5 separate regions of the Homo sapiens genome follow, and regions 1, 3, 4 and 5 are each linked to region 2. Evidence: promoter capture Hi-C in 16 types of primary human blood cells and fetal thymus (Javierre and others, 2016). All regions are on one chromosome and are shown on one strand. The core of a region is centred on a gene start or on the middle of the fragment in contact, and the rest is flanking DNA. Distances in the headings are between cores, read along the strand shown. Region 1 holds the start of GOSR1 (golgi SNAP receptor complex member 1). Region 2 holds the start of BLMH (bleomycin hydrolase). Region 3 overlaps EFCAB5 (EF-hand calcium binding domain 5). Region 4 overlaps CPD (carboxypeptidase D). Region 5 overlaps NSRP1 (nuclear speckle splicing regulatory protein 1).

What was found. The method cuts DNA at HindIII sites, captures the fragments that hold promoters and counts their contacts. A CHiCAGO score of 5 or more calls a contact.
Region 1: a contact is called between the fragment with the promoter of GOSR1 here and the fragment with the promoter of BLMH in region 2, in 4 of 17 cell types (M2 macrophages, M0 macrophages, M1 macrophages and 1 more). The highest score is 7.4, in M2 macrophages.
Region 3: a contact is called between a fragment that was not itself captured here and the fragment with the promoter of BLMH in region 2, in 7 of 17 cell types (megakaryocytes, endothelial precursors, M2 macrophages and 4 more). The highest score is 10.1, in megakaryocytes.
Region 4: a fragment that was not itself captured here is called in contact with the fragment with the promoter of BLMH in region 2 in 1 of 17 cell types (activated CD4 T cells); the score reaches 5.0 in activated CD4 T cells.
Region 5: a fragment that was not itself captured here is called in contact with the fragment with the promoter of BLMH in region 2 in 4 of 17 cell types (activated CD4 T cells, megakaryocytes, erythroblasts and 1 more); the score reaches 6.0 in activated CD4 T cells.

What each region holds. Positions count from the first base shown.
Region 1 is chr17:30,476,121-30,478,820 of GRCh38, forward strand. GOSR1 (golgi SNAP receptor complex member 1) reads left to right here and starts at 1,288. Exons shown (of 9, transcript NM_001007025.2): 1 at 1,288-1,344. The coding sequence starts at 1,314. RefSeq lists enhancers at 1,032-1,181, 1,332-1,551. The HindIII fragment of the contact is 3,772 bases long and covers 485-2,700 here.
Region 2 is chr17:30,290,586-30,293,285 of GRCh38, forward strand. BLMH (bleomycin hydrolase) reads right to left here and starts at 1,359. Exons shown (of 12, transcript NM_000386.4): 1 at 1,222-1,359; 2 at 726-923. The coding sequence starts at 1,234. RefSeq lists an enhancer at 580-639 and silencers at 1,090-1,159, 1,360-1,769. The HindIII fragment of the contact is 8,040 bases long and covers 1-2,700 here.
Region 3 is chr17:30,107,115-30,109,814 of GRCh38, forward strand. EFCAB5 (EF-hand calcium binding domain 5) reads left to right here. Exons shown (of 23, transcript NM_198529.4): 23 at 720-1,338. The coding sequence ends at 910. Among named protein-coding and RNA genes, the nearest start is that of NSRP1, 8.4 kb to the right of the region's middle. The HindIII fragment of the contact is 483 bases long and covers 1,152-1,634 here.
Region 4 is chr17:30,431,056-30,433,755 of GRCh38, forward strand. It overlaps CPD (carboxypeptidase D), which reads left to right. Exons shown (of 21, transcript NM_001304.5): 8 at 717-826. Among named protein-coding and RNA genes, the nearest start is that of GOSR1, 45 kb to the right of the region's middle. The HindIII fragment of the contact is 1,266 bases long and covers 652-1,917 here.
Region 5 is chr17:30,128,669-30,131,368 of GRCh38, forward strand. The region is part of intron 2 of NSRP1 (nuclear speckle splicing regulatory protein 1); the gene reads left to right. Among named protein-coding and RNA genes, the nearest start is that of MIR3184, 13 kb to the left of the region's middle. The HindIII fragment of the contact is 7,104 bases long and covers 1-2,700 here.

The sequences.
Region 1 (2,700 bases), core at 38-2,537, 190 kb after region 2:
AATCCCCCAAATTTGGCAGAAGACATAAATGTCAGAATCAAGAAGCTGAGGATATCCCAAACAGGATAAATCCAAAGAAATCTACACCAAGGCACATCATAACTTCTGAAAACTAAAGAACAGTTCTTGAAAGCAGTGAGAGAGAAAATGTATTTTAGCTACAGTGGAAAAACAATTCCAATTTTAGTCAATTTCTTATCTGAAACTATGGAGGCCAGAAGGAATTGGCACATTTTTCAAGTGCTGAAGAAAGAAATTGTCAACTTCAGATTGTATATCTGGCAACAATATCCGATCCCCCAAGAATGAAGGGAAATCAAGACATTCTCAGATGAAGAAAAACTAATAGAATTTGTCACCAGCTGATCTACTCTTTAAAAAAAAAATGGCTGAGGGAAATTCTTGAAACAGAAAGGAAACGATTAGAAAAAGGAATCTTGGGACACTAGGAACGAAGAAGAGTAAAATATGCATAAATCAAGTAAGCTTTCCTCTTCTCTTGAATTCTCTAACTTATGCCTGACCCTTGAAGCAAATATTGTAACACTGATGTGGTTCTCCTCAATGAATGCAGAGGAAATACTTAAAAACAACTATATTATAAATGAGTGGGGGAAAGAACTTTACAGGAATTAAGGTTTCTACACTTCACTAGAATTAAGTCAGCACCGGTAGACTGTGATAATTTATGTATCTATAAAGTGTGGGTTTGGACAGCAGATTTTATCAGGTTGAGGGCTCAGGCCGAGAGCATGTAGAAGCAGTTAGCTCACTCTTTCTAGATGTGGCGGCTGACAAGGACAAAGAGGGCTGGGACTAGAACTGCTGTAGACAAGGAAAGCAGCCAGTGGAGAAGAGCGCATACGCCAAAGAACGTGGATGATGGAGCACAGGCGGGGAGGTAGGATGAAGGAAATGGCTCTGGGAAGAAAGGGTCTCTATGTCTGAGAAAGGAAGAAATTGGCTGAAGATACAAATTAGAGACAAGGTGAGGGAAATTGAGGGAGTTGCCTGAGGATGATTCTCCTCCCAGTCAAGTAGGCACCTGCTGAGAGAAAGGATAAGCCGAGATGAGGGAGATGATGATGGTTTGGGGCGCAGAAAGCGGGAATGAAAGACAGGAGCTAAAGCCGAAGTTTTTTCTCTCTCGCTACTTAAAAGCTGTAAGATAACGAATTGATCAGCAGGTGGCAGTGTCCGCGGAGGCTCGCATCCCGTCGGCCCTGGCTCTCAAGGCGGAAACACGCACCATGGTGACTTTCCGGCCTGCATCGCCTCTGCTCCCCTATCCCGGCTGACGTTGGACGACAAAGATGGCGGCAGGGACCAGCAGTTACTGGGAAGGTGAGGGCGAGAAGGCCTCCGGGTGCGTCCTACGAGGGTGAGAGGGGCTGAGTGAGGACAGATCTTGGGAGAAGCAGCACAGGAAAGAACCAGACTCCCGGAGCGGCCGAGCTGAGCAGCGGGGCTTGCCTAAGTGGGATCCCCGGGGCCTTGGGGATACCGAACGGTCTGGGGTAGGGGTCTGGCCTGGCCGGGGCGTGTGAGCGGGACGTGGGGCAGGGGTTGGGCAGAGTGGACAGAGCGGGGATGTAGAGGAAGAGGGCTCTCAATCGCCTGGGTAGAATTGTGTTGAGGGAGTAATGGAACTCGGACGAAGGGGCTTGGGGTACGAACTCTGAGAGGAAACGAATGTTGAGGGAGAAGATCCAGAGCCCCGGAGACTGGAGGAGTCAGCGCATTGGAGCTGAGGTCACTATTGGAAAACTGAGTGGGAAAAGAGAAGGAGGAACTTGCATTCCGGTCCGTCGGAGGAAGTATGAAGAGAATAGGAGACAGAATGTCTCTTATTGGGTCTCCATGACAACTACAGGTTGGGGACTTCCAGGACTGGGTGTTTGAAGGAGGAGAAAATAACTTACCCTTCTGCTCTAGAGTCTAGAATCGGTTTTATTGAAAAAGTTGAGAGAACCTGTGTGAATTGCAGTTACATTTGCTATACTTCTCCCACCAAAAAAACCTTCCTGTGATTTGACAAATGCATTTGTTTAATTCCTGAAACTATAGTCGGATAAAGTGAGCTTACATAAAACTCATTCGTGGATTATGATGATCAACAAGAGCAGAGAAAGCTCACCTTTTTCTCCCAACTGTCTCTTTGCTTTACAGCCGCATAGAAACTACTTTCCAAATTCCTTTGACCTGTTTTTATTGCTATACACTGAAGCCTCTAGAAACCACAGTATTGTCACTATCAGCCCCTTGGTCTAAGAAACTCAATTCTAAATTTATCCAGATTTGCCTATCATACTTTCAAAATGCTTTTACTTATGTTTCCTACTAGAGAAGACAATTATTCCAATCACAGAAAAGCGTGCTTATAGTTTAAAACATGTATTACAATGCCCATTTGAAATGTGTGTACCAGCTAGAAAACTTTTTTTTTTTTTTTTTTGGAGACTCGCTATGTCGCCCAGGCTGGAGTGCGGTGGCGCTATCGATCTCGGCTCACTGCAGCCTCCGCCTCCTGCGTTCAAGCGATTCTCCTGTCTCAGCCTCCTTAGTAGCTGGGACTACAGATGCATGCCACCACGCCTGGCTAATTTTTGTATTTTTAGTAGAGACGGGGTTTCACCATGTTGGCCAGGATGTTCTTGATCTCCTGACCTCGTGATCCGCCCGCCTCTGCCTCCCAAAGTG
Region 2 (2,700 bases), core at 109-2,608:
GTATAGATAGACTGGGGGGTCGTTTTTAAGTATAGAAAGACTTTAAAAAATCCGTTTAGTACAATTTTGTTGTGAGAATGTGCTCCTTATTTAGATTGCTGGATATCCAATCTTTCACTATACCTGTTTTTTCTGAGAGTGGTGCTAGAAAGCAGATAGCAAAACGAGACTTCTTGACCAGCAAGGCATGAGAACAGAACTTTTTTCTGTATTACAAACTGATCTACTGGTGGGAACTGAGCCCATCAGCACATTAGCTTCAGTTGTAACCAAGAAGCATATTTAAAAGTAACATCTGATGACATTTTAATGTAATTACATTGTATCTTTTCTATTTCATAGTATAGGGCCTTCAGGGCATTTCTGGGGAGTCCTCCAAAGATATGAACATTTTCACATGTTCTGTTTTGTGACCAAGACCATACATCTCCAAGACACGGGCTACAAACCACACAGCATTGGAACATAATATAGTCAATTACACTCAAACGTATACTCATGGACATGTCACTTTTGTACTCTAACCGCATGTACTAACAAGCCACAGAACAGCAAAACAAACCACATGGGTAATGTTCTTAGACCTGCCTGTACCTGTGCCTCATTCTTTACGAATTTACGACCAGTTCTTTCAGTACGAATTTAAGACCACTCTTAAATAAGACACCAAAATGGGACGCTGTCAGGAAGGTCAAGGAACGTATGGGAGAAGTGGAAGCCCACACCTGAGCTCTTCTGGTTGGTGATTGGCTTGCCCTCCTGGGGCACGGCGTGCTGGAACACATGCTGCGCGCGCTGCACCGTGGCCCGCTTCAGACAGATGTCCAGCAGGTCGTGGGTGGTCCCGACATTCTGGGCAAGTACGAACTGGGGGTCGGAATTCAGTTTCTGTATCAGAGCAGCTACCTTCTCCGAATTCAGTCCTGTTGGGAGACCAAACAGGATTTTAACGCAAAAAGAGGGGGAAAGGGCTGATCTGGGGCTCCCGCGTCCCGAATCTAACTTCGTAAGCGCATCCTGGGGTGCCCGCTGCAGCGGGGAAACCCATAAGCGGCATCCTCCTCCAAGGAGCTGTCTCCCTCCAGGCCGATCCAGCCTGCCCCGAAAGCTCCCTCCCCGCCATCGCCAAGGGTCCCAGCCCCCGGCCTTCCCCGCCGCCGGGCCTCACGGGGACCGCGGAGCTCCTCCAGAGGACCGCGGCGGGGGACGGCGGCACCTCACCCGAGCTGCTCATGGCGCCCACGCTGCCCGGCGGGGTAACGGTAGCTTCCAGGGTCCTTGGGCGAGCGCCGGGATTGCGCTGCGGCTCGCTGCCTAGGGGGCCCGACCTGTCTCTCGCACCCGGAGCGCCGGAAAAAGGAAACCGGCTCGGCGGCGGCGGCGGCGGCGGCGGCGGGGAGGCTGAGGCTGGGAGAAACGGGGTCCGCGGAGGGACAAAACTCCCCCCTCGCGTTGCTGAGTCAGCGCCGTCGGGGCTGGCCCCGCCCGGGGGAGGGCCGACGGGGGCGGCCTAGCTGACGCGCTGGGTCCGCCAGCGCCCGGGGGCTGAGGCCGCGCCTGCCCCCGCGCAGGACCGCACAGATGGTCTGCGCGCCAGGGCGGCGCCGGCGCCTTCTCCCCCTAGGTTCCCGCCTCCGGGCCGCGCGGGCGCCCTCCCGGGATCAGGCCCGCTCCAAGGAGGGAGGCTGACGGGTTCCCTGTGGGCCCAGACCCCCAGTACTCTAGCATCGGGGAATCGTCCCCAGGAAGCCTTGTGAGAAGCCAAAAGGGAGCTCGAGGCGGGAGGGAGGAGCTGAGAGGTCCCATAATTAAGCGTCGGGCTTAGGACGGGTCGATATGTCACAAGGAATGCACCCGAAGGCTCTTCCTATAGGCTTCGTTTGCTGACCAATCACTGCATTCTCAATGGCAACTTGTTGCTTGGATTCTCATCAGAAGCAAATAATTGTCTTTGAGGGGGAATGGGAACCAAGCTCTTCCCCACCCACTCCAAAGCTACTACCAGAGTTCTACAAATAGACATCTGCTCATTTCAAGAACACTACCCATCTGGTCTTCACGGAGTCCACGAGTGGCTCCTGTATAGTCCAGCATGTCCCGTTGGGTTTAACTCAGGAGGATGACAGAGGCTAGCCGTATGCATCAATATTGTTTCGCCGAGTTCTCTACAAAACTAACTGATGCTCCCCCTCTAGGCTTTCAAGATAACTCAACAGTTTCCCAAAGTTTTGAGATTGTAAAAACCTTGTTTTTGTTGATTCCGTGTTTCATGCCCTGAAATCTCAGCCCTTAGTAAGATGCTGGGATAGAACCCACAGAGAGTAAAACAAAAACACTGAAACCCTGTATCTGCTATTCAAAACGATGAGGTTGAGTGTGTGTGTGTGTAACCTAGAATCTAGGTCTTCTTAGATTGAAAATCATCGCAGTTCTAAGGAACTCTGATATCTGGAAAAATCCATACTCAGGCACCAATCAGTCATTTGAGAAAGCACGGTTTCTATGTCCCTAGAGAGACTCGGCTAAAAATTGGGGCTATAACATAGCAACTATCTTAAGTGGGCCCATCAACCATCCTATTCTGAGGTTCTTTCAATATCTGAAAAAGAAGAGGCTGAAAATTATACAGAAAGAAATCACTGGTCCTTTCACAAAATGATGTTCAAGCATCCTGCCCAATTCAAGTCATAAATTTTTATT
Region 3 (2,700 bases), core at 143-2,642, 180 kb before region 2:
TTCTGTTTGAATATTAGTCATTGACTCCTGGGAAAAAGCAACTTTTATGAATGACAGTTTAACAGTTTTCAATTTAAAAAACTTAAAACATATAATGGTGTGCAGTTACTATATAGCTTTAAATAATTTTTAATTAGGAAATATTTCAAACATGCAAGTATAGAGAATAATACCTGCATAGTCATTATGAAGCTATATTCTATATCCAACCTTAACACTATATTTGAGTTAGACTTTTTAAAGAAAACATTATAGGAACAGTTGAGGATTTCTATCTTTCCTCGATCCCACTGTCTTCTCGTCTTTCCCTAGAGATAATACTATCATGAATTTGGTATTGGTTTCATGCATGATTTCTTATTTTTACTATATGCTAATGAATCCATAAATAATATAATACTATCTTGCAGGTTTTAAAGCCGTTTAATTGTGCCCAAAAGTACACATTATTCTATAACTTACTTTTTGTATTGAATATTTTGAGATTTATTCATGAATACAAATAACTCTAATTCTTTGTTAACTGCTGTTAAGTATTCCATTGTATGACTATACCAAAATTTATCCATATTCCTGTAATTACATATTTACACAAGATTCTGCTTGGTTTTGACTCAAAACATATCTAATGAACTTTAATCATAATATTAGAACTTATAATTTTAATAGTAAAGTGCAAAACTCTCCACTCTTACTTTTCTTTTTTTTTCCTGATGCAGATCATTCCCGAACTGAAGTATGGAAATTTGGTAATGTTGTCATTGAACATCTATACCACTGGATACACATCTGTTCAGCTCTCATGAAGATAACCAAACAACTAAATAGTGGTATTACACCTCCGTTGCCCTCCAAGACTGACAATTATATGTATGCAAAAATGCCAGGGGAAGGTTTGCAAGAGAAGTGATAATGGATGATAATGGAATTGATACTGTATTTAGGATCCTTTGTTTGTTATCAGTTTTGTTTGTTAACTATAAAATATTTTCCATTGGAAAGGGGTACCTATAAATGTCTTCTGCTGCTAATATTTATCTCAGCACTTTCTAAACCCAAAAGTGCTACCTAAGAAGAAATTTAGCCAAAAAATACCCAGCTAAGGTAGCCATAGCCAAGTGTATTTAAGTATGTTATAGAATATATTTGAAAGCTTCCTTTCAGTTTGAGCTTTGTATCTGCTGTGGAACTGTTATGGTTGATTGGGTAGTTATTTTTCATTCTTATAAGGTTCAAAGTAACAGCTGAGGATTTAGAAAACAAGAATACCAAATAGAATACGAAATAATAAAGATAAACCAAAAGAATACCAAATAATAAAGATTTTTAAGAAATGGACTGAGAATTGTTTTTCTAATTTTTCAAAGACTTATCTAAACATCGCCTCTTCCCTCTCTCTGCCTCCATACTCTTGCCTTAACAACTCAAAAGTTGCTTTTGGTTTTTAACTTTTTAATTTTTAATTTTTGTGGGTACATAGTAGTTGTACATATTTATGGGGTACTCAAAAGTCATTTTAATGAACAGAAATTCTTGTGGGAAAATGTCCATGACTCATGGAAAAAAGAAGACACTTTTTTAATGATAAAAACCTCTTCAGTTCAAAAGTACAAAAAGAATTTATATTTGTTTAAAGCTTGTTTTTATGACAAACTTTACTGCTCTGTGGTGAGATTTCATCTTTGCAATAGATATCTGATGACAGAGTCCAGTTTTAATAAAATTTTGGGAAATTAAACTTTATTTTCTTTATTAGATTGACAAAATGTGATGTGTCCAAATATCTTATAATTTGAGATTGGCCGTCCCTTTTTAACCTTTTCTGATAAGAGGGCAGTGTTATTACCAGTCCTCCTCTCTCGGATGATCACATGCCAGTTTTAACCTATATGCCTGTTTCATATTTGGAAGGGGGCTTTTTAGGGCCTTCAGAGCAACATTCCAAGGAACAGTGTTCTTGAAGATATTAAACTCATAACCACATATCCTGATGGCTTCAGAGCAAGTTTACAGAGTTCACTGTGAATACAAATGGCATTTTAGGTGGCAAGGAAGGAAAGATTTTGCAGAATGCCATGTTTGTAACCGTTATCCTGGAAATTAAATTAACTAAATGACTTCTAGCTTGATGAAAAATATCATACATTTGCATGGCACTTTAACTTGAAGTGTTTTCGCATACTAGCTTATTTGATTCTTCCAATAATCTATAAAGTGGGTAGTCCTGATATTATCTCTATTTTATTTTATAAATGAGTTGCCCAGTTCACAACAGGCATAAGAGGCAGAGCGGACCTAGCACATAATTTCTGGTTTATTGCCCTTGCCAGCACCCTAGAAATCTCACACTTTCCAACTTTCTTACTAGGCTAATGACCATGCTGTCAGTCTTTTGAAAACTACTTTAAAATTTGCAGCCAAACAAGCCAGATCGGTTAAATTTATTAAATAATCATTCAAGTAAAATACTGTCCCTTAACCTTAGGAGCTTATATTTTGAGTGAGGAGGATGTTATTTATACCTGATGAAGGTTAGATACAGATTTATATCTAAATCCATTTATTTCGCTGTTAATAGATTTATTTATTTACTTATACTTACATATGCTTCAGAAGCTTGGACTTGATTAACTGAATTTGTTATTGGCTCTTTCCTGATAGCTCATAGGTAACAATGACACTGTACAGTGTAGACCATCC
Region 4 (2,700 bases), core at 35-2,534, 140 kb after region 2:
AGGCTGGACTATTTTACATTCCCGCCAGCAATGTATGAGGTTCCAGTTTCTTCATATCCTCACCACCACTTATTATTTTCTATTTTTATTATTATAGCTGTCCTAGTGGGTGAGAAGTAGGACCTCATTTTGGTTTTGGTGTGCATTTCCACAATAACTAATGATGCCGAGGATCTTTTCATGAGCTTGTTGGCCATTTATCTATCTTCTTTGGAGAAATATCTGTTCAAGTCCTTTGTCCAATTTTTAATTGAGTTTTTGTCTTTGTTGTTAAGTTGTAAGAGTTTTTAAATACTGGACACTGGACCCTTATCAGGCTTGCAAAACATTTTCCCCCATTCTATAGGTTGTCTTTTCTCTTTCTTATGTTCTTGATGCATAAAAGTTTTTGATTTTGATGGAATCCCGTATATCTGTTTTTTTCTTTTGTTGCTAGTCCTTTCCGTATTGATGCTAATTATTTTTTTGAGGTAGACTGTTTGGTAGAAGTACTATAAATCTTTTTTTGTGGCTTTAGAAAATTAGCCATTTGAAAGATATCTTCTCACTTATTCACTTTGAATTGAAGAAATTAGTGTAATTTTCATTTCTGTTGAGGAAATTCTGCTTGGCAAATTTTATTGTTTTCTCTTCTCTGGCAGTATTCTGAAAAGCTTTATGTTAATAATCCATCTTGAAACAGACAACATGATACATTTTCCTCTTTTCCCTTATAGGTTCTTTGGTGGTTAACTACCCTTTTGATGATGATGAACAAGGACTTGCCACATATAGTAAATCACCAGATGATGCTGTGTTCCAACAAATAGCACTTTCTTATTCCAAGGTAGGCTTGTCTTTGAATATAAAATGTTACAAAATTAATTCTTTTATTTAAAAATATGCTTTAAAGTCCTGCAAGACTCAGGTCAAGTGCTTCCATAGTTAATAAAGCATGACTTTTTCAGCTGTTTCCGAAAAATAGCTTTTTCTCCTGTTTCCCACCTCACTTTTGAATACACTACATGTCTTTCTCCATTGGCCTTTTATCTATGGTTTTAGCACAGTACCTGGAACATATACATGTCAATTTATTTCATTTGACAAATAAGTTATAAGCCCAGTAAAGTAGGCCAAGATAAGGGCTTAATGAATTATAGCTCTGGAGCCAAATCTTGCCCACCACCTGTTTTTGTAAATAAAATTGTATTGACACACAGCCACAGCTATATTTTTATATATTGTGTGTGGCTGCTTTCTCCTTCAACATTTCAAAGTAAGTCAGTATAATTTACTATATTAACAAACTAAAGAAGGAAAATCCAGTGATCAAAGGGCAAAGTTGGGTAGTTTCAACAAAGACTTTTGCATCTAAAAAGTCTGAAATATTTGCTTTCTGGTTTTTTACAGGAAAAAATTGCCAAACTTTAGTCTAAGGTATTTAAGATCCTGTAGTTACATATAGCAAGGAAAAGCAGGCAGAAATTTCTGTATTTTCCAAACTTCCTATGATAAACATGGATTACTCTTACAATCGGGAATGTTAAAATGTGTGTGTGTGTGAAAATTTAATTTAAAAATCGTTCTTAGGACCAGGCTTGGTGGCTCATGCCTGAAATCGTAGCACTTTGGTAGGGCAAGGCAGGAGAATTGCTTGAGCTCTCAGGAGTTTGAGACCAGACTGGGCAACATAGCAAGAGCTTGCCTCTACTAAAAATAAAAAATAAAAAAAAAATTAGCCGGTTGTGGTGACATGCATTTGTTGTTCCAGCTACTTAGGAGGCTGAGGTGGGAGGATTGCTCTATCCCAGGAGATTGAGGTTGAAGTGAGCTTGATCACAATACTATACTCTAGCCTGGGTGACAAAGCTGAGACCCTGTCTCAAAAAAATAAAAATTGTCTTAGAAAACATGTTAAAAGTTGAGGCTTGTAAACTAAGCTTGTTAGTTTCAATGTTTGGTGTTACTACTGACTTAGTATTGTTATTGGTTATATTGGTACTATTATTGGTTATAGGTAATGAATATTATTACTGTAACTCTGCACTCTCCAGTCACAGTCCTCCATCCTTCCACTTTTCCCATTCCCTCATCCTCTGCAAATGAATCTTGTGAGATTGTTCAGAGTTTCTACTAGAGGAGTACAGCTGTTCATTTCACCTTAGAGAATTATTGCTTTCTGTTTGGACATATATGTTTTTTTGAAGTACATACGTGGAGTAATAAGAGAATGTATAGTGTCCCAACCATCAAAATAAAAATTAAATGGCTGGATTTTGCATATTTTCTCATCACATTCTATGCTCATTCTCATGATTTCTGCTTTTCGCCTTCATTTTGGCTTCTAGTTCCTTATCTTCTCTTTGTTTTCTTAGACCATTAACCCTTTTGATTTGATTTACCTTTCTCTGTAGGGTAGACCCATGGACATACCTTTTCAATGATTCTCCTAAGGGTCTTGTACACCCCTTTGACATAACTGCTTTGCCCTCCAGTCCTCAGTAATTACCATTATCTCTTTTCTCCATACCAATATTACAAGTACAGCCTAGAGTGGTCACACTGTCACGGCAATTTGCTATAGTCCATATGTGTGCTCTCCAACTTCAGCTGAACCCTCAGTCCTACATGGCAACATTTCCTGTTTAGCTACTTGACTCCCTGGCTCAGTTCCCACTATGGTGATTCAGAGCCTTTATCCTCTATCTGAGCCTCCTGTTC
Region 5 (2,700 bases), core at 132-2,631, 160 kb before region 2:
TTTTAGGTATTCAAAAGCATTTATCTTGGGTCTCTTTATGATCGTAAAAATTTAAGACCAGTCCAGCTTTCAACAGTGAAAGCATGAGTAAGTAAAGTGTGTGCAATACTACGGCTATCACATTCATCATGAAATAACATTTAGTGAAAAAATATATACAAATTTGTTATAGATAAAAGGAAAAAAGACAATAAAGCATTTCATATTAATGGTAGTTATCTTTGTATGGCAGACAATGAGTGGTTTTTTTGTTTTTTTTTTTTTAATTTGTAGAGATGGGGGTCTCGCTATATTGCCCAGGCTCATTTTGAACTCCAGGCCTCAAGTGATCCTCCTGCTTTGGTGTCCCCAAGTGCTGGGATTACAGGTGTGAGCCACCACGCCTGGCATGATTTTTTTTTTTATACTTTTCTGTATTTTCAACTATTTTTTAAGAAAAATTATGGTGAATTTTAAGGATTTCCCATAGTGTATTTAGTTTCCAAATCATATTAAAATGTAAAAAGATATAACACATTTTATCTGATAGAAGACTAGGAGAGAAAATATTGGGACATTTTAAAAGCATGAGGTAGATGAAATAAGGATACAAAATTGAATACTTAGGGTTGTACAATGCTATAGGTGCACAGATAAGTAAAAAATAATAAATGAAAATGATTACTTTTTAGCATGGTAGTGTGAGTTTTTTTTCAAAATCATATTATTATTTTGTTATAATTTTGACGAATACAAGGAAGTGAGTGCTTAAAAAAAAAAAGATAACCATAATTGTGTATTCCCAAAGTAAGAAGCATTAGCAAGTTACAGGATTACATAAGTGTATACACTTCCATTCCTTTCACTATTTCTTGATATTTCTCCTCTTTAATCTTTTTAAAAATTTTCTTGAAAAAGTAAGTTGAAGGTTTGGTTTTCCTAATGAAAAATTAATCTTATTTTAGCTGGAAGCCTGTTTGGCTTACTATTGGTAAGAAAAAGTTAAAATTTTAATCTGTCTGAACATTATAGTACATCCAAATCAATAAAATGTTTTAGTTGTGGTTTTTCATCAGTTTTAATCAGATAATGCCTTACTTCTGTAGATATAGTCTAGTATAGTTCAAATAAAAAGACAGTTGTACATAGATAAGACAAAGCATATTGTGAAAATGTTGGGAAATTTAGGTTATTTTAATGATGGCTGAGAATTTGTGAACTTTTCTCATATGCTATTAAACTGAATTACTAGTAAATTTATGGTACCGAGTATATCAAACAGTGAGGGATTTAAAGTAATTTTGCAATTTGCTAAAATTTCATCCTTAACATACTGGCTAAGAGTGAAAAAGCAAGAAGAGAGAAAAGGAAAAGGATGGAACTAAGACAATTCTATTAGAAGTGGGGAGATGGCAAGAAAATTCTGTCCTCCTTATTTTTCTTTTTCTTTTTTAAAATATTTCATTTTGAGACAGGGACTCACTGTTGTCCAGGCTAGAGTGCAGTGGCTCTGTCACAGCTCACTGTAGCCTCAACCTCCTGGGCTCAAGCAATTCTCCCACCTCAGCCTCCCAAGTAGCTGAGACTACAGTCATGCACTACCATGCCTGCCTAATTTTTTTTTATTTTTTTGTTGAGACAGAGTCTCACTATGTTGCCCAGGCTGTTCTGGAGCCCCTGGCTTCAAATGATCCTCCTGCCTCAGCCTCTCAAAGTACTGGGATTAGAAGTGTGAGCCACTATGCCCAGCGTCCACTAGTCTTTTTAACCATTGTTTTCCATTTCTGAGGTCTTTGACTTAATTTCATAGTTTTTCAACATGTGCTCATTGGGGCATTATTTCTTAAGTTTTTGATTGTTAAATAATGCTTGCCCATTGCTTTTGTCACTTAAATATCTACTTGATTGGGTGTAATATTTCTACAATAACAATTTATTTCAAAATCTTACAGACATTAGTGATTTTTTCTGGTACTTAATGTTCTTATGAGGAAGTACAACACTATAGTTTCTTTTATCCCTACTTCTAGACTTTTTTTAATTGGCTTGGACTACTGGAGAGTATATAGCCTTTTTAACTCAATGTGTCTTGCTGCAAATAATGTTGAATTGTTTTTTCCAGGAATACACTGTTTCTTTTTCTCTAAATATTTAGCTTTTTCTTCATTTCATTGAAATTTACTGTCATCCATGTGCTGGGTTATCATTTTGGAGGATCATCTTTGTCTTTCATATCATCGTCATGCATTTATTAATGCATTCAACAGATATTTATTGATCACTTGCCCTGTGCCAGTGAAACATAACAAAAGCCACTGCCTTTATGGCACTTATATTCTCAAGGTGGTGGTGGTGGGGGGTGATAAGTAATTAACATAACAGATAAGTAAGTTACATGTGAATTTAGAAGATTACAGAGCTGTGAAAAAGTAGAGCAGGATAAGGAAAATTAAACAGGTATTTAGGGAAATTACTCAGTCTATGTCTTTTTCTCTCTACTAAGATTAAACTTTTGTCAGTGTTTCAGTTATAGCTTTTCTGTTTCTTACTGTTTCTAATTTATTAGCTCTATTGGTGTTATTTTAGTCTTCAATATATTTTCTTTAGCTCTACAGTTTCTCTGTCTTTTATTGTCCTCTCATCTGAATAGTAACTTTTAAAATTTAATTAGTAATCTTATTTTGAAGAGTTTGACAGGGAAGAGAGAGAGGAAGAGATGGA